7 separate regions of the Homo sapiens genome follow, and regions 2, 3, 4, 5, 6 and 7 are each linked to region 1. The links are contacts of gene promoters, found by promoter capture Hi-C in blood cells and fetal thymus (Javierre and others, 2016). All regions are on one chromosome and are shown on one strand. The core of a region is centred on a gene start or on the middle of the fragment in contact, and the rest is flanking DNA. Distances in the headings are between cores, read along the strand shown.

Region 1 (4,070 bases), core at 470-2,969:
ATCACAACAAGCAAAACTCCAGTACCCACACTTATTGGAAACCACAAAAAGTTGCTATTTTAGCTCAAAGCCAGAAATCCAATAGAAAAATTTCATAATGTAATTTTGCAAGTGTTAGTTCTTACCTGCAACGTAAATTTCATCTAGTTTTTCAGCAACTTTCTGTGGTAAACCAGCATCAAGCAATGTCTGAAAATTTTCTGAATGGATAACTGCAGAAGTAGTATCCATGGGCTCTTCAGTACCATTTCCATTAACATGTTCTGTAGCCATGTTTCCAGAGATCTGTTCAAACGCAATAAGCAAAATTAAACTAGGATCTTCAAAAAGAATACAAGACAATATGAGAGCCCCATCTTTACTTTCTCTACCATTTACTACACCAGCTAGCCTATACCTCCCTTTAAAAAAGCCTTACAGTCACTATCGCCTGACAAGCCAGATTTGGAGCACAGGGCACAGAAGGACCGATTCACCATATTCTTCCTCAGCACCACCCCTGACTCACCTGCTAACACTCCCTAGGAAAAACCATATTACAAATAGAGCCCAATCAGCACGGGTACGAGCCAGCGTGCCACATGCAGCTGTGCCCGTTCGGAAAATGAGGTGTGTGTGGAGAAAGCAAAACTGGGCTCCTCTCTCTCAAAGATAAACCCCCAAAGTGCGCGCTTTTCCCGCCTGCCGCTTATAGATCGGTAACAACAGCCAGCGAAGAACAAAGCGCTCATACAAGCCACCTTCCCACCACCCAATTTCTCCACCCTTTAACCCCGCACCCCAAAGCCCGCCCCTGACTCCGCACCCAGAGCGGCAGTCTCACCACTGCGGCCGCCAGGAGCCCATTAGAAACACGTGCTCTGCGCCTTCCAATGTCCTACAACTTCCTTCAACGGCAACCCAACGAATCCCAAACCAAGACGACCATCACTGGTTCCCAACATCAACCCGAAGCCGCGGTCGGAGCCCCCAGAAAGCTGCAGCAGCACAATCTCTCCCCTGAACACCGAGGCACCGGCGGCGCCAGGCCACAGGCTCTCCCCGCCCCCCAGCGCCGCCGTCTCCGCCGTGACACATGGCTCTCCGCCCCTGGCGCTCCCCGGGCGCCGACGACCCCCGGCCGCCCGCCCGGCCGAGACGTGACCCGTGGCGCGCTGTGCAGGTCCCCACCCCTTACCCTTCCGTGCAGTGACTGCGACGCCTGCCCGGCAACCCAGCAGCGTGAGGGCGTTCAGCGGACGGCTCAACGCCCGCGGGACCGTGAGCACCGCCCAAGCTCGCCGCACGGCTGCAGGACAAGACCCACTCCTCTCCGCCCACTCCCGCGCCGCGGCGACCGCCACGACAGCACCAACTCTGAAGCCGCTCGCGGTCCGTGCGGGCCACGGGACCGTGGAGGCGCCTCCTCCCAAAGCGCCGCAGACAAAGCCCGAACCGCAGCAGCACATGGAAAGGAGGAAGTGGCGGCGCGGGCCGCGGCCTACTCCCAGGCAGCCCCAGTCAACGTGCTCTTCTCCCCATTGGAATCCATTTTCCAGAAAAGCCGGTTTCTACCCGCGCCACCCTCCCCCAGCTCACTCCACAATGTCATGGAGCTCCCCTCCCACACCCAGGTTCTGGCAGTCGTTACCTCCCCGTTGGGCTGAGGCGGAGAAATCCTGTCCGATGGTATCGGGTTGCGGGAAACGCGTGCTCGCTGCTCCCTGTGTCCGGCGCGAGTGGAGCTGTTGTAAAATGGCGGCCGAAGCTCACGCCGCTGGCAGCAAACCCGATCCAGTTCCACTCGCCTCCGAGCGCGCTCCCGGTGCGCGCGCGCGCCCCCGCGTGACCCCCCCTTCCCTTCCCTTCCCTTCCCTCCCCTCCCTCGCGCGTCCGCTTCACTCACTCCCTCAGCCCCTGCCCTCCTCCAGCTCCTCCTTCTCCCCCTACCACCACCACCACCACTAGCCTCTGTCCGCCTTCTCTCGGCCTTTCTTATTCCCGCCCCCCGCTCCTTTACCCCACTGCTCCCACTCCCCTCTGCGGTCGCTCAGGCACGAGTGGCCGCCTTTCCCCTTCTGGCTCGCACGCTCCCTCACTCCCTCCCTCGCTCGCTCGCACTCTCGGCCCGGTCCCCCAGTCCCTGCCGAGTCGGCTCCTCTCTTTCTCTCTCCCGCGCTGACGTGACAACGTAGCCTACGCCTCGGGACGCGCGCCCGCGGGCTCCGCCCCCACGCCGCGCCGCCTTCCCCGCTCCTCACCCCTTGGGTTGGGGGTGGGGGAGGCACAAGACCCCGCCCTTCCGCTCCGACGGTGGCGGCCGAGGGGCCGAGACTGAATGAAAGGCCCGCCCCTTCCCCTCCCGACACTCCCCCTCCCTCTCCCCTCCAGGCGGGGCGGGCCGGCTCAGCGTGTCCCACTCGTTTTCCTTTGTCAGGAGACTGGCATCTCCCCACCCCGCCCCACCCCACCCCCTCCCCGCGACACCATGCGCACGCCACCCCCACCGAGCTCCCGCCCGCCCCATCCCTGCCCGGTCCGGGGCTGGCGGGGCAGAGTGCTGTGGGCGCTGAGTGCGACTGCCGCTTCCCGGAGGGCACCCACCGGTCTGTGCGCGCCCGGCCCCCGCCCCCGGCTCCGCGGCCGCGTAGCCGTTCCAGGCGGTGTCCACGCCGCTGCCACCGCCCCGCGCTCTCCTCCTCGGGAAGCTGCAGGCGCACGTGTCCCCCGGGGCGGGGCGAGGCAGACAATGGGGCCAAGGGGGAGGGGAGCGGCGCGGAGACCCGCGGACCTTTGGTCCGCCGGACTGGCGGTACTCGAGTGCGAGAGTCGCCCTTGGAGACTCGATCTCCCCAACTGGACAGTGGGCCCTCCTCGCAGCCGCGCGGCTCCGCTTTCACGGGAACCTTCGGCGAAGGGAGGGGCGCCCCAGGCTTGGACGCGGAAACCCCGGCTGCTTTTGAAGGGGGAACGGGGCTGGCTCCAGTGGAGCGAGGAGCGGCTCCTGCCTTGGGATGACACGAAGGCCAGATTTGGAAGCGAAACCGCCCGGTGGTGAAGGGTTGTGCAATACTCCGTTTCAGTCCCTGGCCTTTTAAGCAGTTAAGGGCTTCCTCCTGGCACAGTTTGAGCAACTTGAAACAGCACAAAGCTGCGTGGTTAGAACAACTTTGAGAAAAATGTCTGTGTTTCTTTTAAAAAAAACCTTGGCAACTAAATCTTCTGTGAAATGACGTTTCCTTTATAATCGTTTACTAGGTACAAGAAAGACAAGACAAAGGCATTTGAATTACAGACGCGATATGGATACTAATTTTATCCAGGGCAGCTGTAATGAAAAATAGAAACAATGTCCTTTTGATTAAAAAGCTTATTTTTAAGAGCTTACTGGTTCCCCAGATGAGCTCTGTGCTATGATAACAAATCAGTGGTTTGAGGAAAAGTTAGATAAACACTCTTCAAAGTGCACAAGCACATAAAATGCTAGATTATTTTCATAGCTACTTGGATCAGATATGAAGTATGTTTTAGCCAAAGCACCACATAGCCAACCTGTTTAGTAAGGATTTGAGATCTCCACCACCCCAGATTCCTTACTATCAAACATATGTGATATTCAGCTGCTTCAGCCATAGGGATTTTTGTTCACAATGCAGAGGTCGTGGTTAATGATATACATGAAAAACAAAATGTTTAATAGAAAACTATGAAAATAAGAGTCATACCATGGATTAAACAAGAATAAAAATTGGCCGGGCGCGGTGGCTCACGCCTGTAATCCCAGCACTTTGGAAGGCCGAGGCGGGCGGATCACAAGGTCAGGAGATCGAGACCATCCTGGCTAACACGGTGAAACCCCGTCTCTACTAAAAATACAAAAAAATTAGCCAGGCGTGGTGGCGGGCGCCTGTAGTCCCAGCTACCCTGGAGGCTGAGGCAGGAGAATGGCGTTAACCCGGGAGGCGGAGCTTGCAGTGAGCGGAGATCGCGCCACTGCACTCCAGCCAGGACGACAGAGCGAGACTCCGTCTCAAAAAAAAAAAGAATAAAAATGAGTCTGAAACATGTAACACTTTGTTTAGACCTTCCTG
Region 2 (4,070 bases), core at 740-3,239, 3.7 Mb after region 1:
TACTCAAATCAGACTCCTGGAAAACTCAGCGATCGTGGCTTTTCAAGATAATTTGGTGGATAGAGGGCTTGTTTTGGAAAAGGGCTGTTACTGTCTTTGTTTCAAAGTTAAACTATAAACTAAGTTCCTCCCAAAGTTAGTTTAACCTACGCTCAGGAATGAACAAGGGCAGCTGGGAGGTCAGAAGCAAGATAAGAGTCAGGTCAGATCTCTTTTACTGTCATAATTTTCTCAGTTATAATTTTTGTAAAGGCAGCTTAAGGTGGTGGTTTTCAATAAATATTTGTTTTGTTGCATGTAGACAACTTTAGGTCCTACCAATTTTTTACTTTAAAGCCCTTTTATCAATAGTTCAATTATTGTAATTACAGTCAGGAGAAAACCATTGTAGGATGGTATAATTATTTTTTTAATCACAACTTTATTGAAATATCATTCACATACCATAAACTCACCCCTTTAATGTGTGGCTTTTGGAATATTCCGTTATGCAGCTCCCCTAAAAGAAGACTCATACCCATTAGAAGTCATTCCCCTTTCCCATTCCCTTCAGCCCCTGGCAACCAACACTAGTTTCTGTCTCTATGAATTTGTCAATTCTAGACATTTTATGTAATTAGAATGATATAATATGCAGCCTTTTGTGTCTGATTTCATTCACTCAGCGTAATGTTTCCAGGGTTCATCAATGAAGCATATATCATCACTTCATTCTTTTTTATGGCCATAATATTCCATTTTCCATAGACATACAATATGTCCATAGACATACAATTCCATTTCCATATACATACAATATGTTGTATGTATAGATACAACATATTGCTTATCCATCAGCTGGGCATTTGAGTTTCTGCTTTGGGGCTATTAAAAATAATGCTGCTATGAATATTTGTGTACAAGGTTGTGTGTAAATGTTTTCATTCCTTTTGGATATTATATGTGGCAGTGAAATTGCTGGGTCATATGGTAACTTTATATTTAACCTTTTGAGGAACTGCCAAATTGTTTTTCAAAGTGGCTGCACCATTTTACCTTCCCACCAGCAATGTATGCGAGTTCCAATATCTCCACATCCTCACGAACACTTGTTATCTGGCTTTTTTGTTCTGACCATCCTTGTGAGTGTAAACTGGAATCACTGTGGTTTTAATGTGCATTTCCCTAATGACTAAGGATGTTGAGCTTCTTTTCAGGTGCTTATTGGGCATTTGGATATCTTCTTTGTAGAAATCTCTATTCAAATTATTTGCCATTTTAAAATCAGGTTATTTCCTTTTTATTACTGAATTGTAATTATTTAGATATTTCAGATACAAGTCCCTTATTAGATATGTGATCTGCAAATATTTTCTCCCATTGTGTTGTCTTTTCACTTTCTTAGTGGTGTTGTTTGATACACAAGAGTTTTTTATTTAAAGAAATATAATTTTCTTTTTTTTTTGGTTGCTTGTGTTTTTCTTTTTTTTTTTTTAAGAGGTACGATCTTGCTCTGTGGCCCAGGCTGGAGTGCAGTGGTGCTATCACAGCTCGCTGTAACCTCAAACTCCTGGGTTCAAGCAATTCTCCCACCTCCACCTCCTGCATAGCTAGGGCTACAGGCTAATTTTTTTTAAATTTTTTGTAGACACAGGGTCTTGCTATGTTGCCCAGGCTGGTTTCAAACTCCCAGCCTCAAGTGATCCTCCACCTCCCAAAATGCTGAGATTATAGGCCTGAGCCACCATGCCAGACCTGCTTGTGCTTTTGATATCATATTTAAGAAACCACTGCATATCCCATTGTCACGTTTACTAAGTTTCCAAGAATTTTATAGTTTTAACTCTTACATTTAGGCCTTTGATCCATTTTGAGTTAATTTTCTTATATGGTGTATGAGGTAGTGGATGGTATAACTTTATTTACTCATTTTTCTCAGGGCAGGGTATAGCCCCAGTGGATCGAGGTCAGAGCTGTGGGAAGGCCCCAAAGGCATTTGCTGAGGTCTGATTATGCCAGACACCTAGGTGGGACTCTAGTCATGCACAGCCTTGTGCTTTATGTTAAGGGTTTCACCCTATCTAAGAGCAACAGGAGAGAAGAGATCAGGTCTGTATATTGAAAACTCTGGCTGCAATGTAAGGAATGGGGTGAGACTAGAGACCTGTTAGGAGGTTACTGCACCAATTTGGAGGAGTTAATAGCTAAATAGGATATAGTGCCTAGTTAGGGAAGTGGAAAGATGAGAGAGAAATATTCTAGGAGGTAGAATGGATGAGAGACAAGACTGGATGATGTAAAGAATACAACCTTTGGTCAAAAACAAGGTATGAGTAAAGTCACTGGTTTTATTGAGCAGCTCAAACTAGTTCTGAAGGCAACTGTTCAGAAGGCGTTCCCAACAGCTTTTGAGCAATGCACAGCCTCCCATAAAACCTTAAAAAGTACATCTGTTAATGTGCACATTAGTCTTTGTTAGTCACGTTCACTAAATGCATTAACCTTACATATACTTCCAATTAAAAAAACACATAGGCTTTTCAGTATTTTGGCCTAGATTTTTGTTCAAATGAGTCCAAATGTGTGAGTGAGGTTTACCTGTTTTCTGATTCTGATCTATAAAAATGGGTGGTCTCAAAAGACCAGAAAGTTTATTCATAGCCAAAAATGACAAAAAGAGTTCTTATTCTCCCAAAATAGGAAATTTTGTATTCCTATAGTCAAAACAATAAACAATTTTTGAAATTAAAAAAGTTGAGAATCTTGAAATTCATTTTTTTCAGTAGAATAAAACAATAAGCAGCATGAAAACGTAAAGTGCTACATAAAAGCCCCACATTACATAAATTTTGAAAAGTTTATTGGCTTAAACAGTTACAGGTGAAACAGATTACGTATTTTTTTTTCAAGCATGCTATTTTAATTACCTTGATATCTCATCATGTGCTATGTTGGTCAAATAAAATGTCATGAGTTATCTAGATCTGAGGATTAAAGAGGAGTCCTCAGCCTTTACTTGCCAGAATATACATCCAGTTTTAGCTGTATGCTGGAATTAAGGAGTTAAAGTAGGGCTTTAAAGATAATAGTTTTCTGAAGAGGCCTTTCAGTGGGGCTTGGACAAAAAGGGCCCCAAAGACCAATTTTGCTCATTAACCTCACACTGGGGATCAGATTGACAACTTAAGGATTTTTAGGGAGCATATGTGAGATCAAAGGGAAGAAGAAAATGGTGCCCCTTTCAGATGGTGCTTCAGGTGCTAAAAAATATCCCAACACAAACAAGCAGGTGGCTAGCTGACAGGTGGGGGAAGAGATGCAAGTCAGATAGCAAAGGATCTGCACAGTGCAAAATCTTCTTGGCTTTTTATTTAACTTAGCAGTGAATGCAGCAGGATTGGCTTAAAGTATAGGTACACCCCATGGAAACATGCAATAAGATCACATCGATCCAGAGGCTGGCTCAAGTTTGACTGAGGGGAAACGGAGGGAAGGCTGTTCCTAGCACACAATCTCAGCAGAGGTTGAGGTGGTGGGGATTTCTTTCTTCTCATATGACGCTACCGTCGGTGACTTCTTACTAGGAGACCACTGAGCACTGAATCAAGGTTTCTAATATGTTTCAAATCAAGATTTTAGAGTGTATTTTCTTATGGCAATAGAGTTATAAAATGGTAACCTATGATTTTCCTCATATAATGAGATCTTCATAAAGTCCTTGAGCTTTTTAGACTTTAACAAATTCAGCTACAGATATAAAAAATAATCTGTAAACACCTTTAAAATGCGAATTTATTAAAGTTTAAGACAATTCTGTATTATATAATAGTGTACAATATGTTCTTATTTTAGATGTAGAAATAAAGGAAAACTGGCTCTCAGATGAAAACAGAAATTGTGTCTGACAGTTAATAGAACGAATGTCCCATAAACAGGAGTAAAAATTAAATTTTCCTTTAAGACGATTTTACAATTATTTCTCTTGTCCATAATTTCACTTAGTTAAAACCACATAAGGACTTTATGAATACCCTCCCCTATACTATTCAAGATATACATATGGGCTAACTTTCGTGGACCGATCTAGAACC
Region 3 (4,070 bases), core at 564-3,063, 3.5 Mb after region 1:
GGTCTCAAACTCCTGACCTCAAGTGATTCGCCCATCTCGGCCTCCCAAAGTGCTGGGATTACAAGCGTGAGCCACCACGCCTGGCCTGCAAAAGCTTTTAACTTATCTCAGACCTAAGTCTGTTTCCAATTCATCTTCCAAATAGTCATCAATTATTCTTGTAGAACAAATTTCTGATCTTGTCTCTCTCCTGCTTAATAACATCCAATAGTTTAGCCATTGTCCAAGTTTTATTTTACTTTGAGACAAAAGTCTCACTCTGTTGCCCAGACTGGAGTGCAGTGGTGCAATCATGCTTACTGTAGCTTTGACCTCCCGGGCTCAAGCGATCCTCAAACCTCAGCCTCCAGAGGAGCTGGGACCACAAATGTGTGCCACCATGCTTGGCTTATTTACTATTTATTTTATTTTATTTTATTTTTTGTAGAGTCAGGGTCTCCCTATATTGTCCTGGCTGGTTTTGAACCCCTGGGCTCAAGCTATCCTCCCACCTCAGCCTCTTAAAGTGCTGGGATTACAGGCATGAGCCACCAAAACCAGCTAAAGTTGTAATTCCTTAGCAATGTGTTGTACACTTCCTCTATGTCCCTTCATCCCCAATCAAATTCACCTTTCTGCTCACCTACTCTCTTAGTTGTCTGCTTTCTGCCATATGACAACCAGCTCTTCCAACACCTTAGCCCAGATTGATTTTACATGTGCTATCTAGTGCGTGTTACGTGTTTGTTTCAGCTAGAGAAGTTTCTGGAGTTAACCAAGTTTGCATGTGTGTCTGGGGATGCTTAGGAGAATGTTGTAAATGACCAGTATACCAAAGTGACACTGTGATTTGCTTCTTCTCCATGCTGGCAGCAGCAGTCCTCAAATCGTGCAGTGGCCAGCATTTTGTTCAGGAGAAAATTGCTGTAGTTCCAAGTATTGTTAAACTGAAACGATGTAGGCTGGATTCACATGCACTTTTGGAAATATCATATATTTTGAAGGTATTATAAGTTTGATTTTTTTGGTGAAATATCTGCACTCTCTCCTTGGATTAAATCATTTTTGCACTTTTTATTCCTTTCCCCCACAATTATTATTATTATTATTATTTTTTGAGACGGAGTCTCGCTCTGTCACCCAGGCTGGAGTGCAGTGACGCGATCTCGGCTCACTGCAAGCTCCACCTCCCGGGTTCACGCCATTCTCCTGCCTCAGCCTCCCGAATAGCTGGGACTACAGGTGCGTGCCACCACGCCCGGCTAATTTTTTGTATTTTTTAGTAGAGACGGGGTTTCACCATGTTAGCCAGGATGGTCTCCATCTCCTGACCTCGTGAACCACCCACCTCGGCCTCCCAGAGTGCTGGGATTACAGGTGTGCGCCACCGCGCCCGGCCCCCCACAATTATTTTTGTTTGTTTGCTTTTCATTCCTGAAATCCTGCACTGAAGCTCTCTGGTACTTCTATTTACTTTTTCTCTACCTTTAATTTTCTTCATTTTATTTTTCATTCCATTCCTTTTTCTGTTTTCAAAAACTTTTTTTTCTCATTTAGCTCATGCTTTGCCATGAGCTCATGCTTTGCCATGTTGGGGATTTTATTTTATTATTTCTATCTTAATTCAAAGAATATAAACCATACAAAAGCCTGCTGCCTTTTCAAAAGGAGTTCTGAATCTGAAGCCCAAAATAATACCCAGTATAGTTGTACAATTTGGCTGTATTTTAGTTGCTTTTCCAGGGTAAAGGAAATTTTTGATCTACTCTTTCCACCACAGCACTCATTTGTCATGAATGTCCTGTTCTCAAAGTTATTGAGTCAGTTGTGATGACAGCTGGTTTTCTAAGCAGCCAGGAAAGAAGAGGAATCTTTATATATTTTTTCCCCTTTTTTCTCATCAGGAGCCAAGAAAGAACATTTATATACTTTAAAACCAGTCCTCAAGAGAGAACTATCTGCACTCCTCTCACCCCCCCAAAAAGGTTATACATCTTAATACTAAATTCTGGATATTGTATTGTTTCCTCAGATCCAGCACCAGCTAAAGGAAGGGAGCTTGTATACATTTTTTTTTGTTTCTAATAAAAACATACAGGTTCCTTACCAGTAGCACATAGATAGGGTAGACAGTTGTATGAATATTATGGGTACAAATGAAAGTAATAGTAAGAATTTATGAGCTGACCAGATTCTAGAAAGCCACATGTCCAACTCCATCAGCTTCCAGAAGCAATTCTTCCTGCCCCCAGCTCCACATAAAGGACTGAGAAGTCTAGGAAGAAGCATAACAATGTCTATTGGTAGTCAGTGTCGTTTAATGGTTAATTGCTGCCATTATTCAGTTAGTTTATTAGATTCAAGAAGAATAATCAGCCAACAAATATTTATTAACACAGAGGAAATGCTGACCATAAGATGTTAGGTGCTGGGGAATGCAGTGGGAAAACAAAAGAGTTTAAAGCCTGGAGGGGAAGATAAACGGTCAGCAAGTTATCACAGTTTATCAAATAAATGAATTCAAGGGTGCAAAATACCATGAGCAAGAAATACAAGGTGTCAACAGTAGAAACTGAATACATACGTGCCTGTGGGCATGTATACCCACCCACCCACCCACATATATACACAAGGAACAGAGCTTGAAATGAATCTGTCTTTCCTCTACCTCAAGTGGCAGCTTTGTTAATTCCTGCAAAGCAATATAAATAGCAGCTTCTATATGAAATTATATGCATCCCTTTTCTGTTGCTGTTTATTGATGCCTGAGGAGGGCAAACATGGGTTCTACTGATGTCAGCAGGCAGAGTTGCTGCAGTAAAATTTATTCAAAATGAGTGTTGTGGGTTCTGATTTGAATAGATAAACTGGAGATGCATTTATGAATTTGCATGTCTGTTTACACAAGCAATAGACCATGGTGGCTGAAAGTCAGCCACTGGAGGCTGACTCTGGCTTCTGTTCTACAGTGGGTCCACTACTTACTAGCTCTATAATCTTGGACATACATCTGTAAAATGAAGATAAATAACCACATTAACCACCTCATAGTTTGCTGTGAGGATTAAATGAGTTAACAAATGCTAAGCCCTTGGAACAGTGCCTAGCACAGAGTAATTGCTCTACAAATGTCACCTATTGCTTTTGCTCTCCAATCCCCCCTTCTCCCCTTTTTTTAGCCAACTAACTGAGCAGGATAATATTGGATCTCGTGGATACAGGGTAATTTTCTTCAGCAGAATACCAGAGAAAGATTTATTATCGCCAAGGGGGCCCAGGAATTTAATAACACATTTGTTGTTTTTAGAGCTGAGTTTTTGTTGGAGTGTTAACTGAGAAAGAAAGTTTTCAGACGTGAATGGAATGTGACATTTACTCTGGTATTATTAGCATATAGAGTAGTAAAAACAGTAGTTGATAGTCTTCGTGCATGTTAGCTTCCCTTAGACTTATTTTCAAAATATTCATTTGGTTTATCACATTAATATATTGTGTCCCATTTAACATAGTTGAGACAAATTAAGGAAAGATGATAGGGTATGAAGAGCTGATAGAAGCTTTTAATATGTGGAAAACCTCAGAATATAAACATCTACAGTGTTATTAATAGGCATACCGTCAACAACAGTTTTTCAGACTTTGTGGTTCACTCTGGAGAAAAACAAGAGCATGACATCTTGAATTTCTTCACTGGGTAATTAAAAAACTCAGTTATAATGTAACACCAGCTGCACATATCATGTTAGTGGAGTTCAGCATCAATTAAAATTATAAACGAAACCTGTCATATGTTCCCTTTCAAAGCTGTTCAAGACAACTGTCCAAATCAACAAAACAGTATGAATATTTACTACCATAAATCTTTTAACTCTTTGGTTTTAACTCATTTCAAATTTTTAGTTCTACTCTATTCAAATAAATTATTATATAATAGCTAATACATACCAAGAGCTTACTGCATAATCTAGCTGCTGTTCCAGACATTAGTAACCAATGAGAAAACTGTAGAGAGTAGCTGCAGCTTTTAGTAATACAATGTCAAGGAGAAGAAAGTGGGGGCAGTACCGAAACTTACGTACAGTACCGTCGTT
Region 4 (4,070 bases), core at 998-3,497, 3.4 Mb after region 1:
TTGAATTAGAGATTTGCGGTTTATCTGTGCCCTTGGGAAAAAATTTGCCCACCTTGTTTCTTTAAATTATCGTCTCAATGTCTCCCTTTTAAAATTCCACGACTTTTGAAATATCCGTGATTACCTAAAAGCTTTTGTGCTTGTTTCCTGGCCTGTTTTCTAGAACAGGTACTAACTAGGGAGCTCTGGCAGTGAACCTTATTGACGTGGAAAGTTGTGGTCCTCTTTCGTGTCGTGTCTTGCTTACTACCGCGTTACAAGTGTTGGTAGTGCAGTGATCTAGTGGATTACCTTACGCTTTTCCATCCTTTCAAGACTTCCTATAAGGCCCACTTAAGTTGGGAAAGATTAAGGTGAGTGAAGCAGCGTTCTTGAAGCAGTTACTAAACCAGAAAGGAGGTACACAGCAAAGATTGTTTCTGGCACTCGTATTTGGAAGAGAGCTCATTAGTCTTCCTTACAGTTGTAGAAAGGTGGACTTGGGTTATTTCAGACTTTTTTTAGTTTGACATTTTAGAACTGGTTCACGTTGCATACTGGTAACTAGCAGTGGTGATTAACTGCATTTTTAGTGGCGAACAAGAGTGAACTTAAAAGTCAAGGGAAATTTAAGTTTTTTGTTGTTTTTTTTTTCTTGAGACAGAGTCTGCCTCTATCGCACTCCAGGCTGGAATGCAGTGGCACGATCGATCTCTGCTCACTGCATCCTCCCCTTCCCAGGCTGAAGGGATCCCGCCTCAGCCAGCCTCCCGAGGCGCGTGTTACCACGCCGGGCTGATTTTTATATTTGTAGTAGACATGGGGTTTCGCTATGTTGCCCAGGCTGGTCTCGAACTCCTTGAGCTTGAGCGATCTGCTTGCCTTGACCTCCCAAAGTGCTGGGATTACAGGCGTGAGCCACCATGCCCAATTAAAGTTTTTGTAATTTTCAGCTTTTATTTTAGATCAAGGAGGTACTTGTGCAGGTTTGCTACATGGGTATATTTCGTGATGCTGAGGTTTGGAGTATGAATGATCCCATTCCAGGTAGTGAGCATAGTACCCAGTAGGTCCCCATCTCTCTCTCAACCCCCCTTCTAGTAGTGCCTAGTGTCTGTTGTTGTTCCCCACTATATCCATGTTGTACCCAGTGTTTAGCTCCCAAATTCACTTGTAAGTGAGAACTTGCGATATTTGGTTTTCTGTTTCTGCATTAATTCGTCTAGGGTAATGGCCCCCAGCTACATACGTGTTGTCACAAAGAACATAATTTTGTTCTTTTCTATGGCTGTGGGCAAACTTAAACACAACAAAACTAGATATGTGATATGAGGTTCATAACTGATTTTTATCTAGAAACTATATTTACTTTTGTGTTCTTGTCTTTGTAGGTTTTAAAATCAAAGATGGGAAAATCGGAGAAAATTGCCCTTCCCCATGGCCAGCTTGTTCATGGTATACACTTGTATGAGCAACCAAAGATAAACAGACAGAAAAGCAAATATAACTTGCCACTAACCAAGATCACCTCTGCAAAAAGAAATGAAAACAACTTTTGGCAGGATTCTGTTTCATCTGACAGAATTCAGAAGCAGGAAAAAAAGCCTTTTAAAAATACCGAGAACATTAAAAATTCGCATTTGAAGAAATCAGCATTTCTAACTGAAGTGAGCCAAAAGGAAAATTATGCTGGGGCAAAGTTTAGTGATCCACCTTCTCCTAGTGTTCTTCCAAAGCCTCCTAGTCACTGGATGGGAAGCACTGTTGAAAATTCCAACCAAAACAGGGAGCTGATGGCAGTACACTTAAAAACGCTCCTCAAAGTTCAAACTTAGATTTCAGATTTCAGTATGTGTGTAAAACATAATTTTTCCCATATCCCTGGACTCTTGAGAAAATTGGTACAGAAATGGAAATTTGCCTTGTTGCAACATACAATTGCAAAAGATGAGTTTAAAAAATTACATACAAACAGCTTGTATTATATTTTATATTTTGTAAATACTGTATACCATGTATTATGTGTATATTGTTCATACTTGAGAGGTATATTATAGTTTTGTTATGAAAGTATGTATTTTGCCCTGCCCACATTGCAGGTGTTTTGTATATATACAATGGATAAATTTTAAGTGTGTGCTAAGGCACATGGAAGACCGATTTTATTTGCACAAGGTACTGAGATTTTTTTCAAGAAACAGCTGTCAAATCTCAAGGTGAAGATCTAAATGTGAACAGTTTACTAATGCACTACTGAAGTTTAAATCTGTGGCACAATCAATGTAAGCATGGGGTTTGTTTCTCTAAATTGATTTGTAATCTGAAATTACTGAACAACTCCTATTCCCATTTTTGCTAAACTCAATTTCTGGTTTTGGTATATATCCATTCCAGCTTAATGCCTCTAATTTTAATGCCAACAAAATTGGTTGTAATCAAATTTTAAAATAATAATAATTTGGCCCCCCCTTTTAAAATAGTCTTGACTCTTTGTGTGTGACTGTTTCTCATGTTTGAATGTGTGACTAGGAGATGATTTTGTGTGGTTGGATTTTTTTGACTTCTACTTTACTGGCTGAGTGTGAGCCGCCATGCCTGGCCATAATCTACATTTTCTTACCAGGAGCAGCATTGAGGTTTTTGAGCATAGTACTTGACTACTCTAGAGGCTGAGACGGGAGCATCTCTTGAGCCTGAGAAGTGGAGATTGCAATTGAGCTAGGATCAGGCCACTGCACTCCAGCCTGGGTAACAGACGCTGTCTCAAAAAAAAGGCCAAGAGAAAGTAAGGGAGACAGATTTTGAGTGGGAATGTTAAGCAATCAGGTCAAGTAAAGAAGATCGAATATACAAAGGAACTTCTGTTTGATGTTTTGTGTGAGTCACCATTCCTTCCTTACAAATGCAGATACACCTTCCTCACAAATGGAAGGGAAGCTCATTTAGAAGTTTAGTTTGAAGATGCCCCCAATTTTTAGTCACCAATTTTAGCTTTTGTTAGTAATGTGTTGTAAATATTAATACTAATGACTGACTACAGTGAGTTCTGACATCTCTCCCAAATCAGTTTGTGATTCTAGAAAGGGACACATTAACAGGTTTTAACAACACATTTTTGCACATGGTTATAAAAATTCCTACACAATGTAATATAAGTCCTACCGCCTCAACCACCCTTCTTTCCTTGTCCAACATTTCTCAGCTCTTGTCATTTTGAGCAGTATGTCTGCAGTTTAATGTGTGAGGGCTTATGTGTAACGTATGTTCAGGAAATAGAAGGATAAATGGCAGAGCTGAAAGTTTAGGTGGGATGGGGAGAAAAGACAAATATAACTAAAATACAAGCTATATTCCCCACTCTACAACAACAAATGCCTGAAGAGAGAAAAAGGTAAAGTCTCTTAGGGTGAAGGGACTAATTTTGGTGAGAAAATTTTCTCTTTGGGAATCTGACACCTTAGAAAGTAACAGTGAGTTGAGCTGGGCATGGTGGCTCACGCCTGTAATCCCAGCACCTACGGAGGCTGAGGCGGATGGATCACGAGGTCAGGAGTTCAAGACTATCCTGGCCAAGATGGTAAAACCTTGTCTCTACTAAAAATAGAAAAAAATTAGTCGGGCTTGGTGGCAGGCACCTGTAATCCCAGCTACTCAGGAGGCTGAGGCAGAAAATTGCTTGAACTCGGGAGGCGGAGGTTACAGTAAGTCGAGATCGCGCCACTGCATTCCAGCCTGGGTGACAGAGCAGGACTCCATCTCAAAAAAATGAAAAAAAAAATTGAGTTGAGCCTTAAAAGATAAGTATTTGACACACAAAAAAGGAAAAAAATTGTGAGGTAAAAGTTTGAGCAGATGGTGGTGTAAAAAGATGCACAACGCTGAATCCCAGCACTTTGGGAGGCTGAGGCTGGTGGATCACCTGAGGTCAGGAGTTCGAAACCAGCCTGCCCAACATGGCGAAACCCTGTCTCTACTAAAAATACAAAAAATTAGCTGGGTGTGATGGTGGGTGCCTGTAATTCCAGCTACTTGGGAGGCTGAGGCAGGTGAATCGCTTGAACCCAGGAAGCGGAGGTTGCATTGAGCCAAGA
Region 5 (4,070 bases), core at 852-3,351, 3.4 Mb before region 1:
ATTCATTTTATGAAATAAGAAAGAATACATTTCATTCAATTTTATATTAAATATTAGAATGCCATCCTACAACTGCTGACTTCTACTACTAAACAACAGTTGCAATACTAGACAGTTTTAAGTTATCCAACTTTAAAAACCCCAGACTTTTTTTTTTTTTTTGAGACGGAGTCTCGCTCTGTCACCCAGGCTGGAGTGCAGTGGCGCCATCTCGGTTCACTGCAAGCTCTGCCTCCCGGGTTCACGCTATTCTCCTGCCTCAGCCTCCCGAGTAGCTGGGACTACAGGTGCCCGCCACCACGCCTGGCTAATTTTTTATATTTTTGGTAGAGATGGGGTTTCACTGTGTTAGCCAGGATGGTCTCGATCTCCTGACCTCGTGATCTGCCCGCCTCAGCCTCCCAAAGTGCTGGGATTACAGGTATGAGCCACTGCGCCCAGCCTAAAACCCCTGAATTTTTAAATAAGAACTGAGCATGGATTTTCGCTTTTAATTATCTGGAATATATAATACTAACATTAATAATCTCTGTCTCATGGTAGTTAATTAATTTGGTACTGTATAATATAGAATCAGCCCCTTTTCAATAACAAATGGGGCTCTCTATATAACTGGTACTCAATTAATATTCCCATACTTGCTTTCTCTTCCCTGACTGAAATTTATACTGATTTCTTTCCTTCAAACCTACCCACTGTGCTTGCTTCACCCTCATTCTGTGGTAAATAAAATCCCTTAGATCCTTAATACCTTCACAAAACACGCCCACTGCCTTGCCTTACCTGAAATGTGGCTTTCTCTTTGAGTACACTAGTTCACTCACAACCCTGGCAAATGGAATATGCTCAAATATTCCAAACTATATATTTCTTTGGATCAGACATTTCAATCACCCTCTGATTTCCTAATGCCATCATGATTCCCTCACTCTTGTCTTTAAAATCCCTGCTCCGTAACAGCTCATGAAATAAAGGTATATCATGTACTACCTCAAAAAAGGAAAAACAGGTGTCTTTCTTGTGCCACAATTCCAATCAATCATTAGTGGCTGCTAATGGTTGGATTATCATTTTAAGGAGGAGTCTGAGGACCCACTCAAGCTCAGCATGAGAAAAAAAAAACTGACTAGCATGTCTGCAAAAAGCTCTAGACTAGGTGAGCAGCTTGTACACTTGCTGCCCCTGCTCTGATTTCTCACCATCTTGCTCACCCCTCTCACATTCACTAAAGACTTGGACACCAAGCTTGATTCTCGCCCATCACAAGTCCTTTCATTATCCTAAGTTCCCTCCACATCTACAGAGAAGACCCACAAGAATATTAGCTTTCATGACACCATTCTACTCCCTACTTCTCTAGCCACTTTTCATTCCTATATGGGTTTTTATTCCTGTTCTCTCAAAATTTAATATTCTCTAGAGTTTAAGGATTCTATTGCTTTTTTTGTTCAATTGCTGGTTGTGATGCATTAGGTTGTGACTTTTAGTTTAAAAAATAGTGTTCTATGGAGCCCTAAATATAGTGGTCATATTATTTATCATGCAAACATTTTTGAGAATGAAAGGGGATACTAACAATTACACTAGGAAAATAATCATAAACCAGAACTGTCCTGGGCAAACTAGGGATATGTTGTCAAAGTAGCTCTAAAAACTGTCTAAGAATTCAATCTCAGGATATAAACTAAGTGTTGTTATGTATGTCATATATAAATAATAGGTGAAAGTTGGAAAGAGCCAGTACTATAGTGATAAAAACACTCCAAGCTCATATTCTGGATCAAAGAAGTTTTATGAACTTCAAAATGCAGAAAGAATATAACTAGGAAGTTGTAGGAAATGTAAGTTGAAATGGTAATTTAGGAAGACTGAAAAAGTTCTTACATTCCAAGCCACAGAGTTTGGACTTTATCCAAAGGTGACTTAGTAGATAAACACATAATTAGCTCTTTTTTAAGACAAATAATTCTGGAGAAGAATATTATTGGGGTTGAAATGAATGGAGCCAAAAAGTCAAATTAGGACACTGTTGTCACTGTCCAAAAAAAGAGCTTGAAAAGGACATGGCACCTAGGTTCATGAGACAGAAAAGAACTAAATAGACATGCTCTGAGGTATCATCTTCAGGATTTAGAATTTGAGATTTATAACATTAAAAATTGAATAGGGTAGTTTAGGAGTGGCAAAAATAACACTTCAGACATTCTAAATTTAAATATCTTGAAAGAATACCCACAGTACAACTGAAATAAAGTTCAAGAGAAAGACTGGGGCTAGAGATACACATACATACACACATATACACAATGTAATACAGAAAGATTTGTCAACAGTAGCTGTATCTGGGGAAGTAGAAGATATCATGCATTGTAAGGATATAAGACCACAGACCAAATCTTTACAATTGTATCTATTAAAATTTTACAATTACTTACATTTAAGAACTCAGGTTCACAAAAAGCATCACTCGTGCCTAAGCATCTAAGGGCAAATTTTTGAACCCCACACTTCCAAAACATTGCTTATCTGTCTCCATAAGTGATGAAATTTTAGTTCTATCTACTATCCAAACTGAGAACTGAGACTTAGACATTTAATTATTTATTGCTTGTCAGTGTGAATACAAATAATTAAATAGAATGACTGGCAGTTTACCAGACCCTCAGTTAAAAAACTCTATAGCCTTTCCAGACTGCTGTCATCCAACTTCACATAAGATTAAACATATTCTCTTCATGATAAATAGCTTGGAACCTAAAAACATTATTTTGTTACAAAAAATTGCAAGAAGTGTGTTGTTTTCTAAATTGAAATTATTTTATTTTTTAATGCCACCAAAAAAAAAAGAACTGTTGTTCACTTATCAAAAATAACACTGAGCTTCAACAACAAATTCACTTGAGAAACAGCTTACAGAATTGTAATGTTTGTTAAATAGAAAAGCTAGAAAATCAAGAGAAGCTTTACCCTCTTAAATTAAACTACTATCTGTATAACATTTTCTAATTTCTAACACTAATTGCACAAATATCTTATATTTTAGGGTATTTTACAAAGTCTAAATATAATTAAGGCTAACAATATCTAAAATAAAATTAGCAAAGTTCTATTGATTGATTTCCTCATTAAAATGTTACTGTACCTGAAACAAAGTTATGTAATCCACATGAAAAGCTGAACAATCAAATACAAAAGTTCTTTCTCATCTCTAAAAGTATATAGATTGTACTTCAAAAATACCTGCTTGATATAAATCCCACTCCTGGAGAACAGATCCACCAACTCTGGATGATGTTTGCTATTCTGGCTTCCATGACCCAGGGTAAAATTTGTATTATCGCCCCAAGTATAAACATCTGTAGGATCTAAAATAAAAATTAGTTTTTATACTTTTTTATATTTTAAAACACATATAAGAACTAATTTAACTACAATATTTAGAAAGATGCCAACGCTCTTCTCTGAATGAATATATTAATATGATATTAGGTAATTCTAGAAATAGAAAATCCAAATCATAGTACAGGCCTGTCTCAATGCAAGCAATCAAACATTTGTTCCTTGCTTCTTTTTTTTTTGTTGTTGTTTTTTTTTAATAATTGAGACAAGGTCTCATTATGTTGCCCAGACTGGTCTTCACCTCACGGGCTCAAGTGATCCTCCCACCTCGGCCCCCCAAAGTGCTAGGATTACAGGCATAAGCCACTCTGCCCAGGCTGTTTCTTGTTTCTTTAGCAGCTAAAGTTTAACTGCCAAATGAGTAAAACACCACCGGCCATATCTACTTAGTTTCCATGAAAATAATATATAGAACTGTATCAAATGTAAGATATTATTAATCCACACATACAAAGGTTCTAAATGTTGCAAATGTGATATTACTCTTTGTACAGGAACACTAACTTTCAATACTTTGTTTTTCATAGACACAAAATCACACTAGTGATTAGGGTAAAGCCCATTAAACTGGAATACAAATCACAGCTAAGTTCATGATATAAATCTTCATTTTTATTTTAGAAGATGAATAAAGTCTTAGAATGGAATTATCACTGTTAACCTGCAATGCA
Region 6 (4,070 bases), core at 240-2,739, 3.4 Mb before region 1:
CATGGTGGCGCACGCCTGTGATTCCAGCTACTCAGGAAGCTGAAGTGGGAGAATACCCTGAGCCCTAGGAGATCAAGGCTGCAGTGAGTCAAGATCACGCCGCTGCAACGAGTCAAGATAACGCCACTGCACTCCAGCCTAGGCAACCGGAGTGAGATCCTGTCTCAAAAAATAGTAATAAATAAAAGTTAAAATTACCAGGTCTCGGACAATTTGTGGTAAGCATTGGGGATCCAACAGTGAACAAAAATACATGTAGACCCAGATATTCCCAAGCATAATAAATTGCAACGTTTATAAGTATTAATCTGATAGATTTATCTGACTTCCAAAAGATGTGACACATGAACTAAAGACTGAGCAGAAGATAACTCAGATAACTAGATAACGAGGAGATAAGTAGATGAAGCAGGAAAGAAATAACATTCCAGTCAAAGGAATGTAGAATTGCTCCCCTTTTCCCAGGAAAGTTAGATGCTTTCAAAAGTACTTACTGGTTATTTGCAAGACAAAATATTAAAATAATTAGGAAATAGTACAAATGAAATACAATTAAATGAAAAATATATTGTAGATGTGGTTAAGGGAGGAAGAAATCAAAATGAGCCATTTTGTTTGATTTTTAAAAAAATTTTGTGTTTACACATGAAAGAATAGGTCAAAATATATCTACAATGATTGTTTCTATGGTGGGATTATGGGTGATTCTTAATTTCTATCATTTTGACTTTTGTAATTTTCATTGCAATAATTTAAATATTACTTGAATGATTAAAAAAATCAAAGTTTGGAAAAATAATTGACTAGAGTTTCTAAAGTAGTTTTATTTTTTAAAGTAAAAAATAAAAAAACCAGAGATGACTTTAAAAGATTGCAGTGATGGGCCAGGCACAGTGGCTCATGCCTGTAATCCCAGGAGGCCGAGGCAGGCAGATCACGAGGTCAGCAGATCGAGACCATCCTGGCTAACACGGTGAAACCCCATCTCTACTAAAGAATACAAAAAAAATTAGCCGGGCGCAGTGGCGGGCACCTGTAGTCCCAGCTACTCGGGAGGCTGAGGCAGGAGAATGGCGTGAACCTGGGAGGTGGAGATTGCAGTGGGCCAAGATAGCGCCACTGCACTCCGGCCTGGGTGAAAGAGCGAGACTCTGTCTCAATAAATAAATAAATAAATAAAAAGATTGCAGTGATGGGCGGAGGGAGTAGAAAAAGAATAGTACAGGCATCAAGAGTGGAGCACTGCAGAAATATTTCTAAGCCACATGGCATCTATAATAAACTCCCTAAATACCATTTTTCCAAAATAAATTGGTAGTACTATCCTTTATAATTAAAAGTACTGACATCATTATGTGTATTTTGCTGTCTTTCAAGTTGTATAGGAGTAGGAAATGACAGTGCTGGTGGCAGAAGAGAAAACACTAGAATTTGATTAGAAACCCAAACCTGATTAGGTTCTACAAGAATGATTTTTAGAGGAAGATCAATAGTGCAGCTGGCCTAGAGATGACTGGAACCTTATTGTTTAGCCTCATTCTCTTCTACTCCACACCATCTTCTACAGGACATCACTGGTTGACTACAACTTTCTGGCACACAAATTAAGTACCTCACATAAATCACATATCTCACCTCAGGTTTGCCATTAGGGAAGATAGCACTGAGCCTATTATCTCAAGCACAAAAGTTCTAGGCACCTGACGGACTCATGTCGGCTTGGATTAGGTGAGGAATCAAGGATAACATGATTGACATCCTCTATTAGAGTCATGGTTAAAGCAGAGTGAAGAGTAGTTCCCCAAAAGAAAGCAGGGTGAGGCAGACAAAACAATAGGCCACATAGGGTGTTTGTGTTCTTCTGGATTCAGGTGTATGGTCCCAGCTGCGTTCTTCCTATAGAATCATTATCTTTCCAATCCTTACTTACAGAGGGTCACCTCCCCACATATCTGTGAAGACTTTCCGGATGGCCTTTCCTAGCAATTATTCCCTTTATACTGCTTCTATCACTTAGTCATATAATGTATCACACTGTTTTATTTTTAGATTTGTTAGTTTTACTCCTGGAGACAAGGATTCTAGAGGCAAGGTGCCCAGATATAAAGTTTTACTCCTATGCTTACTATCTGTGAGATGTCAGGCAAGTTACATAAACCCTCTAAGCCTAGTTTCCTCATCTCTGAAATAGGGTTAATAGTATTGCTTTCATAAAGTTCTTAAGAAGTTTAAATGAGATTTTATATATATATATAATATAATGTATATATTATATATATGAAGCTCTTAGTACAACTCTTAGCAACTTAATTGACATAACCTGAAATGAACTGCCTGGATGAATCTGTTTCCACCAAATTAAAGGGTGGGATGGGGAAACAAAGAATAACCCACAAGGTGGCAGTATTTGAATGTAACTTTAGAATCTTATGTTTAAAAGCATAGTCCACCAAAAAAATCTGAAATTCAAGGCAAATACTGGAGAAATTCAAGGTAAATTCAAAGCCTAGATGAAATAAGCAGAACTTTGAGATAAATCAAACTTATAAACTTAACAGGCTTAGTATTCTATTACAATCAGAACACTGAACTCCTAAAAGTCTTCCCTTTACGATGACTGAAAAATGTATCATTTGCCTTTCTCAGCCCATCTTACTGAGAATTGCTCCTATTCCTTTTCTACTTAGCTAAATAATTAAATCTGTGTTGTCACTATTAGAAAGAGAGAGAGAGAAGAAAGAAAAAGAGTGAGTTTGATACATAGTGGTTGGAGCCTTCTCTTCATGCCATAAATCCCTAGGACTGATAGAAAAGACATACTTAGGCCGGGTGTGGGGGCTCACACCTGTAATCCTAGCATTTTGGGAGGCCAAGGCAGGCAGATCACCTAAGGTCAGGAGTTTGAGACCAGCCTGGCCAACATGGTACAACCCCATCTCTATTAAAAATACAAAAATTAGCCGGGCATGGTGGCAGACACCTATAATCCCAGCTACTCGGGAGGTTGAGGCAGGAGAATCACTTCAACCAGGGAGATGGAGGTTGCAATGAGCCAAGATCACACCACTGTACTGCAGCCTGGGCGACAAGAGCAAAACTCTGTCTCAAAAAAAAAAAAAAGAAAAGAAAACATACTTAACATACTTAAACTTATCAGTGCATTGGAAAACAAGAACCTTGGCCATTGAAGGTCCAGAACTTATGAAGAGTCCTTGAAAAGTGGATAAGAGGCTAGATTGGGAAAAAGTAACAGCCTGTGGTGTTGTGATATATATATAGGTTTTCATCCACAGCTCTTGGCTCATAACTCCCATAGCCCTTGTTACAGTCATTTGTTATAAAGTTGGGTATGTTAGACCTCAGGAACAGGCCTCTGACCTTCTCCTGCCCTTCTTCCATAGTTTCCGCACCTTTCTGACTCTGGGTCTTAAGACCCTCCCACGAGAGAGTCCCACCCTATACCCTGCGGGAAGGAATGCTGATGTCCTGAAGCTTCCATAAAAATCCAAGAGGACAGAGTTCATGAGCTTCCAGATAGGTGAACACATGGAAATTCCTGGAGGGTGGCACACACAGGGAGGGCATGGAAACTCCACGTCCCTTCCCTCATACCTCACCCTACGCGTCTCTTCATCTGTATCCTTTGCAATATCCTTTTTAATAAACCAGTAGGCCAGGCGCAGTGGCTCACGTCTGTAATCCCAGCACTTTGGGAGGCCGAGGCAGGCGGATCACCTGATGTCGGGAGTTCGAGACCAGCCTCACCACCATGGAGAAACTCCGTCTCTACTAAAAATACAAAATTAGCCAGGCATGGTGGCAAAAGCCTGTAATCCCAGCTACTCGGGAGGCTGAGGCAGGAGAATCGCTTGAATCCGGGAGGCAGAGGTTGCAATGAGCAGAGATCATGCCATTGCTCTCCAGCCTGGGCAACAAGAGCAAAACTCTGTCTCAAAAAACAAAAACAAAAACAAAAACAAAACAAAAAAACAGTAAATATAATTATTTCCTGAGTTCTTTGAGCCACTCCAGCAAATTAATAGAACTCAAAGAGGGAGTCATGGGAACCC
Region 7 (4,070 bases), core at 781-3,280, 3.3 Mb after region 1:
GCAAAGAGTTAAGGACGCGACGAATGGGAGGAGCGGGCCTTCTCTCGCCCCACTCGGCACCGCCCCGCCCCGCCCCGTCCCGCTCCACGGACGCGCCCGGACGCTACTGGTTCGCCTTTGCGCATGTGCAATTGCCCTCGTACCGAACTCCGCAGGACGAAGCGTGTATTTTTTTCCCATCCAGACAACCTAGAGAAACCCAAAAAAGAGGGAAGCCAAGCGCCTTTCCATGCGTAGATTGCCCGCCACTTCCGTTAAGGCATCTATTTTACTGATGAAAAGAGGCCTTCTGAGCGTTACCACAGCTCAAGCTTGGCGTCCCAGCCGGATCTAGGTTTGATTTGCAATTAGGGAAAGTTGTTCAAGGGAACAAGTCTTAGGAGAATTCTAAGGACATGAGATTGGAGTACCAGAAATGGGGAATTTTTCTTTTGGTGAGTACTTACGAGGATCTATGAAGCTTCTGAAATTAATTCCAGAACACTTAGAGTTTTGTTTGTACATTTCTGGATCAAAGTTTCAAAGCATACTGGGGAGTTTGAGAGGGTCCATGTCTCCAAAAAAAGTTACTAATTAATGTGGTATAATTGACAAAGGTAGGAATTGATCAGTGGAGAACCTCTTCGTGGCGTTGTTCTCCTTGGCCTACCAAATAAACAGTGCCTTTTATTTTCCCTTCGAGTTAAGCAGAGGTGCTTGAAAAATTTTTATAAATGCCGTCCTTTAACGAGCCTTTCCTTTGTTACCAGATTAAAGTGTTAAATATAAAGCTGGATGATGGCGAATCAATTATAATGTAGTTTGGCTTTAAACACCAATGCTATATTGGAACTGCAAGAACGTAAGGCTGCAGGGAATACATTTTTAAAGCGTCGGTGGGGAACTTTCTGGGACGCTCAACCCCCTGAATGCCTGGACCCCCTCAGTAAGAGTCCCATCAATAGAGGCAGTCCAACAGCAATCTCTCTGAGGCAGCCTGAGTTAGGTCACACTTCTGGTCTGTCCTGCTGTTGCATCTGCTCAGAACTGTTAGTGAAGGTGTAAACTCCTCCCCTGACAGAACAAGATAATACCCAGTTTCCTTTAAGGCCATCAGTCTACCCAAATAATCTCCGATGAATTCCCTTTTCTGCTGATAGAGTGTGTACCATGCCCAAAGTGGTAAAAACCTTCCATCCCCAGACCCCCTCCAAGGATGGGAAAGGTGAGCCTGATCCTGGAAGAGTATCTTACCTTCCCCTTCTGGGGATGACTCCCCTTGGTGACTCCCCTTCCCACACACGCTATACCCAGTAGCTCAGTCCTAGGCACACAGAAGCTTCATACCACTGGCGAGCAACTGTTATTGGCTGTAAGGCAGCAATGTGCACTGGATTTTTATTCTGCTATCCAGTTATGCCCTCTCCATACTCATTGCCACAGAATTGGGAGGACCCTGTGGCTACCTTTTGTCCACAATAGAGAGTAGAGTAGGAGAGTGGCATCCCGATGAGCAGGCAGTTTCTCTCTGCCTGTCAGGAATGCCTTGCCTGATGTGTGTTTCTGCCTATATTGCTCCTAGTCCCAAGTTTCTACTACTCTGTGAGAAGAAAAATAGATGCTCACAGACAGACCAACATGATTCCTCCCCCGCTTCCTGGAACCCCTGACACCCTCCCAGATATGTCTTGATCTCCTCTTTATCAGATGTAGATTCTCTTCATTGGTGAGTCTTTCATCAAACATCCATTTTGCCCATAAGGAAGAGTGTGTACATGTAAAAAATAAGATTGAACGTTCTCTTTTGGCAAAAGAGAGAGATCTTATCTGTCTTCCCTTTTCCTAGGACTTTTCCTTGAGAAAAACCTATATTTATTAATCCTTCCTCTTCACTTTGATATGTAGATAAATCTTTTGTTTTTGCAGACAGGGTCTCACTTTCTCACCCAGGCTAGAGTGCAGTGGGCATGATCAGGGCAGCCTTACTGGAGCCTCAACCTCCCAAGCTCAAGCAATCCTCTCACCTCAGCCCCCAAGGAGCTGGGACTACAGGTGCAGGCCCCCACACCCCACTAACTTTTTTATACTTTTTTCGTCTGGAACTCCTGCAAGCAGCCCTCCCACCTCAGCCTCCCAAAGTGCTGGTAAGACAGCCAGGTGGGAAGGATTCCTTGGCAGAATCTCCTTTTGACCTGAGCACTGGGAGGAATGCACCCTGTGGTGGAGCCTTGGGAAATTTGCGCCATTTGCAGTGGGGAGGAGCCTGGCCCCTCCTTTTCCTAGGTGGAACCTGGGATTCAGTCTACCAGGCAGGAAGCACTCTGGCTTTGGGGAGAGTCTCTGTTTCCCTTTTTTTCTTTTTGCCCAATAAATTCCATTCTCACCCTTCAAGGCATCTGTGAGCCTAATATTTCATGGCCATGTGACCAGGACCCAGCTCTTAGCTGAACTAAGGAGAAAGTCGTACAACAGCTTTGGCACCCAATGTGGGGCTTGAGAAGCGGTTGAGTGACACGGGGACTCAAAACTTTTCACTGTCATTTCTAAGCCTTTTCATGCGTGGACTTCTGAGGGTAGGGAAACCATGCCCCCACTCCCATCGCTCCCTGGGGTCAGGGGCCTTTCCATGGCCTTTGCCTTCGTTTTTTGGGAAGGATAGGCAAGTCGCAGCTCCTCATTCCCTCTCCCCTCCCAGCTGGGGCTGGGGAATGCCACATGTCCACAGCATCTTCCCCTTCCCTGGCCAAGGCTCAACTCCATCTGATAAGCTTCTCTCCCTGGTAGAGGAACCATTTGCCTAAGAATAAAAGGTTTATTCCCCCAGGCATCCTTTTTTCTTCACCCCATCAACAGTTAACTTTTAAACCAGATGTTTTTTTTCTTTTTCACTAGGCTAGGAATGATAAGGATCCCTGTTTATATTCTCCTTAAAGTTTGGTTGTGAAAAAGGATCTTATGGGGACTGGTTTTCTTCTGCCTGTCTGTGTAGCTATATATATGTTGTGTACATGATGTCTATGAAAAGAGCTCAAAGGCCAGGCACGGTGGCTCACACCTGTAATCCCAGCACATTGGGAGGCTGAGTCAGGCAGATCACCTGAGGTCGAGAGTTCAAGACCAGCCTGACCAACTTGGAGAAACCCCATCTCTACTAAAAATACAGAATTAGCCAGGCATGGTGGCACATGCCTGTAATCCCAGCTACTTGGGAGGCTGAGGCAGGAGAATCACTTAAACCTGGGAGGTGGAGATTGCACTCCAGCGTGGGCAGCAGGAGCAAAACTCCATCTCAAAAAAAAAAAAAAAAAAGGAGCTCTAAGGCCAGGTGTGGTGGCTCATGCCTGTAATCCCAGCACTTTGGGAGGCCAAGGCAGGCAGATCATTTGAGAGTCAAGAGATTGAGACCAGCTTGGCCAACATGGTGAAACCCTGTCTCTACTAAAAATACAAAAATTAGCCAGGTGTGGTGACGTGCCTGTAGTCCCAGCTATTTGGGAGGCTGAGGCAGGAGAATCCCTTGAACCCAGGAGGCAGAGGTTGCATTGAGCTGAGATTGTACCACTGCACTCCAGCCTGGCCAACAGAACAAGACTCTGTCTCAAAAAAAAAAAAAAAAAAAAAAAAAAACTCTAATTGGCCTAAAGGAAGACAAGTGCTTAGATCATATATTTTTTAAAGGGAAGGTAAAAGATGTGGTACCTTTCAGTTCATGTGACTTTAATCTTTGAGAAATAAAAACAGCCTTAAAGATTATTGGTAAAAAACAGATGTCATCAAAATGTAAATAGGTGGACTAAATTATGCAGGTTAGGTACTAGTCTTGCTAAATGTTTTAATGTTATAAACTGCTTTTTGAGTTTTGAGAACTATCTGACTTGCTGGCTTCACAATTGATAAGGCCTGGGGACATATGGAACTAACCATGTCATTAATTATGCTAGAAGGAGTCAAAACTTCGCTGCACCTGGCACACAATTAAAACAACTTACCAGGTTTTACATTAAAGTTAAAATTGCTAGGAGTTACCATTATAATGTATAATTGAAACTACTGAAAATAGATTTACATGCAAGGTGTGTAAGAACAGTAAA

Evidence for each region. The method cuts DNA at HindIII sites, captures the fragments that hold promoters and counts their contacts. A CHiCAGO score of 5 or more calls a contact.
Region 2: a contact is called between a fragment that was not itself captured here and the fragment with the promoter of SYNCRIP in region 1, in 1 of 17 cell types (neutrophils). The highest score is 5.9, in neutrophils.
Region 3: a fragment that was not itself captured here is called in contact with the fragment with the promoter of SYNCRIP in region 1 in 2 of 17 cell types (non-activated CD4 T cells and total CD4 T cells); the score reaches 5.9 in non-activated CD4 T cells.
Region 4: a fragment that was not itself captured here is called in contact with the fragment with the promoter of SYNCRIP in region 1 in 7 of 17 cell types (activated CD4 T cells, monocytes, naive CD8 T cells and 4 more); the score reaches 22.3 in activated CD4 T cells.
Region 5: a contact is called between a fragment that was not itself captured here and the fragment with the promoter of SYNCRIP in region 1, in 3 of 17 cell types (monocytes, total CD8 T cells and non-activated CD4 T cells). The highest score is 10.5, in monocytes.
Region 6: a fragment that was not itself captured here is called in contact with the fragment with the promoter of SYNCRIP in region 1 in 3 of 17 cell types (total CD4 T cells, monocytes and fetal thymus); the score reaches 8.1 in total CD4 T cells.
Region 7: a fragment that was not itself captured here is called in contact with the fragment with the promoter of SYNCRIP in region 1 in 3 of 17 cell types (non-activated CD4 T cells, fetal thymus and M0 macrophages); the score reaches 8.9 in non-activated CD4 T cells.

What each region holds. Positions count from the first base shown.
Region 1 is chr6:85,641,167-85,645,236 of GRCh38, forward strand. SYNCRIP (synaptotagmin binding cytoplasmic RNA interacting protein) reads right to left here and starts at 1,720. Exons shown (of 11, transcript NM_006372.5): 1 at 1,631-1,720; 2 at 126-285. The coding sequence starts at 273. RefSeq lists silencers at 770-819, 1,040-1,189, 1,780-2,799. The HindIII fragment of the contact is 3,992 bases long and covers 1-3,346 here.
Region 2 is chr6:89,324,318-89,328,387 of GRCh38, forward strand. It overlaps UBE2J1 (ubiquitin conjugating enzyme E2 J1), which reads right to left. Exons shown (of 8, transcript NM_016021.3): 8 at 2,308-4,070. Among named protein-coding and RNA genes, the nearest start is that of GABRR2, 11 kb to the left of the region's middle. The HindIII fragment of the contact is 4,319 bases long and covers 1-4,070 here.
Region 3 is chr6:89,141,580-89,145,649 of GRCh38, forward strand. It overlaps LOC101929004 (a long non-coding RNA gene), which reads right to left. Exons shown (of 4, transcript XR_942766.4): 2 at 2,168-2,254. It also overlaps a transcript of PM20D2 not described here. Among named protein-coding and RNA genes, the nearest start is that of PM20D2, 2.4 kb to the right of the region's middle. The HindIII fragment of the contact is 3,442 bases long and covers 93-3,534 here.
Region 4 is chr6:89,082,383-89,086,452 of GRCh38, forward strand. PNRC1 (proline rich nuclear receptor coactivator 1) reads left to right here. Exons shown (of 2, transcript NM_006813.3): 2 at 1,371-2,778. The coding sequence ends at 1,814. Among named protein-coding and RNA genes, the nearest start is that of PNRC1, 3.7 kb to the left of the region's middle. RefSeq lists enhancers at 1-42, 2,125-2,652, 2,653-3,179. The HindIII fragment of the contact is 4,237 bases long and covers 130-4,070 here.
Region 5 is chr6:82,228,478-82,232,547 of GRCh38, forward strand. IBTK (inhibitor of Bruton tyrosine kinase) reads right to left here. Exons shown (of 29, transcript NM_015525.4): 4 at 3,241-3,365. Among named protein-coding and RNA genes, the nearest start is that of IBTK, 17 kb to the right of the region's middle. The HindIII fragment of the contact is 1,716 bases long and covers 1,244-2,959 here.
Region 6 is chr6:82,249,732-82,253,801 of GRCh38, forward strand. No RefSeq gene overlaps it. Among named protein-coding and RNA genes, the nearest start is that of IBTK, 4.0 kb to the left of the region's middle. The HindIII fragment of the contact is 4,001 bases long and covers 1-3,490 here.
Region 7 is chr6:88,963,697-88,967,766 of GRCh38, forward strand. No RefSeq gene overlaps it. Among named protein-coding and RNA genes, the nearest start is that of RNGTT, 2.1 kb to the left of the region's middle. RefSeq lists an enhancer at 1 and a silencer at 1-219. The HindIII fragment of the contact is 1,429 bases long and covers 1,317-2,745 here.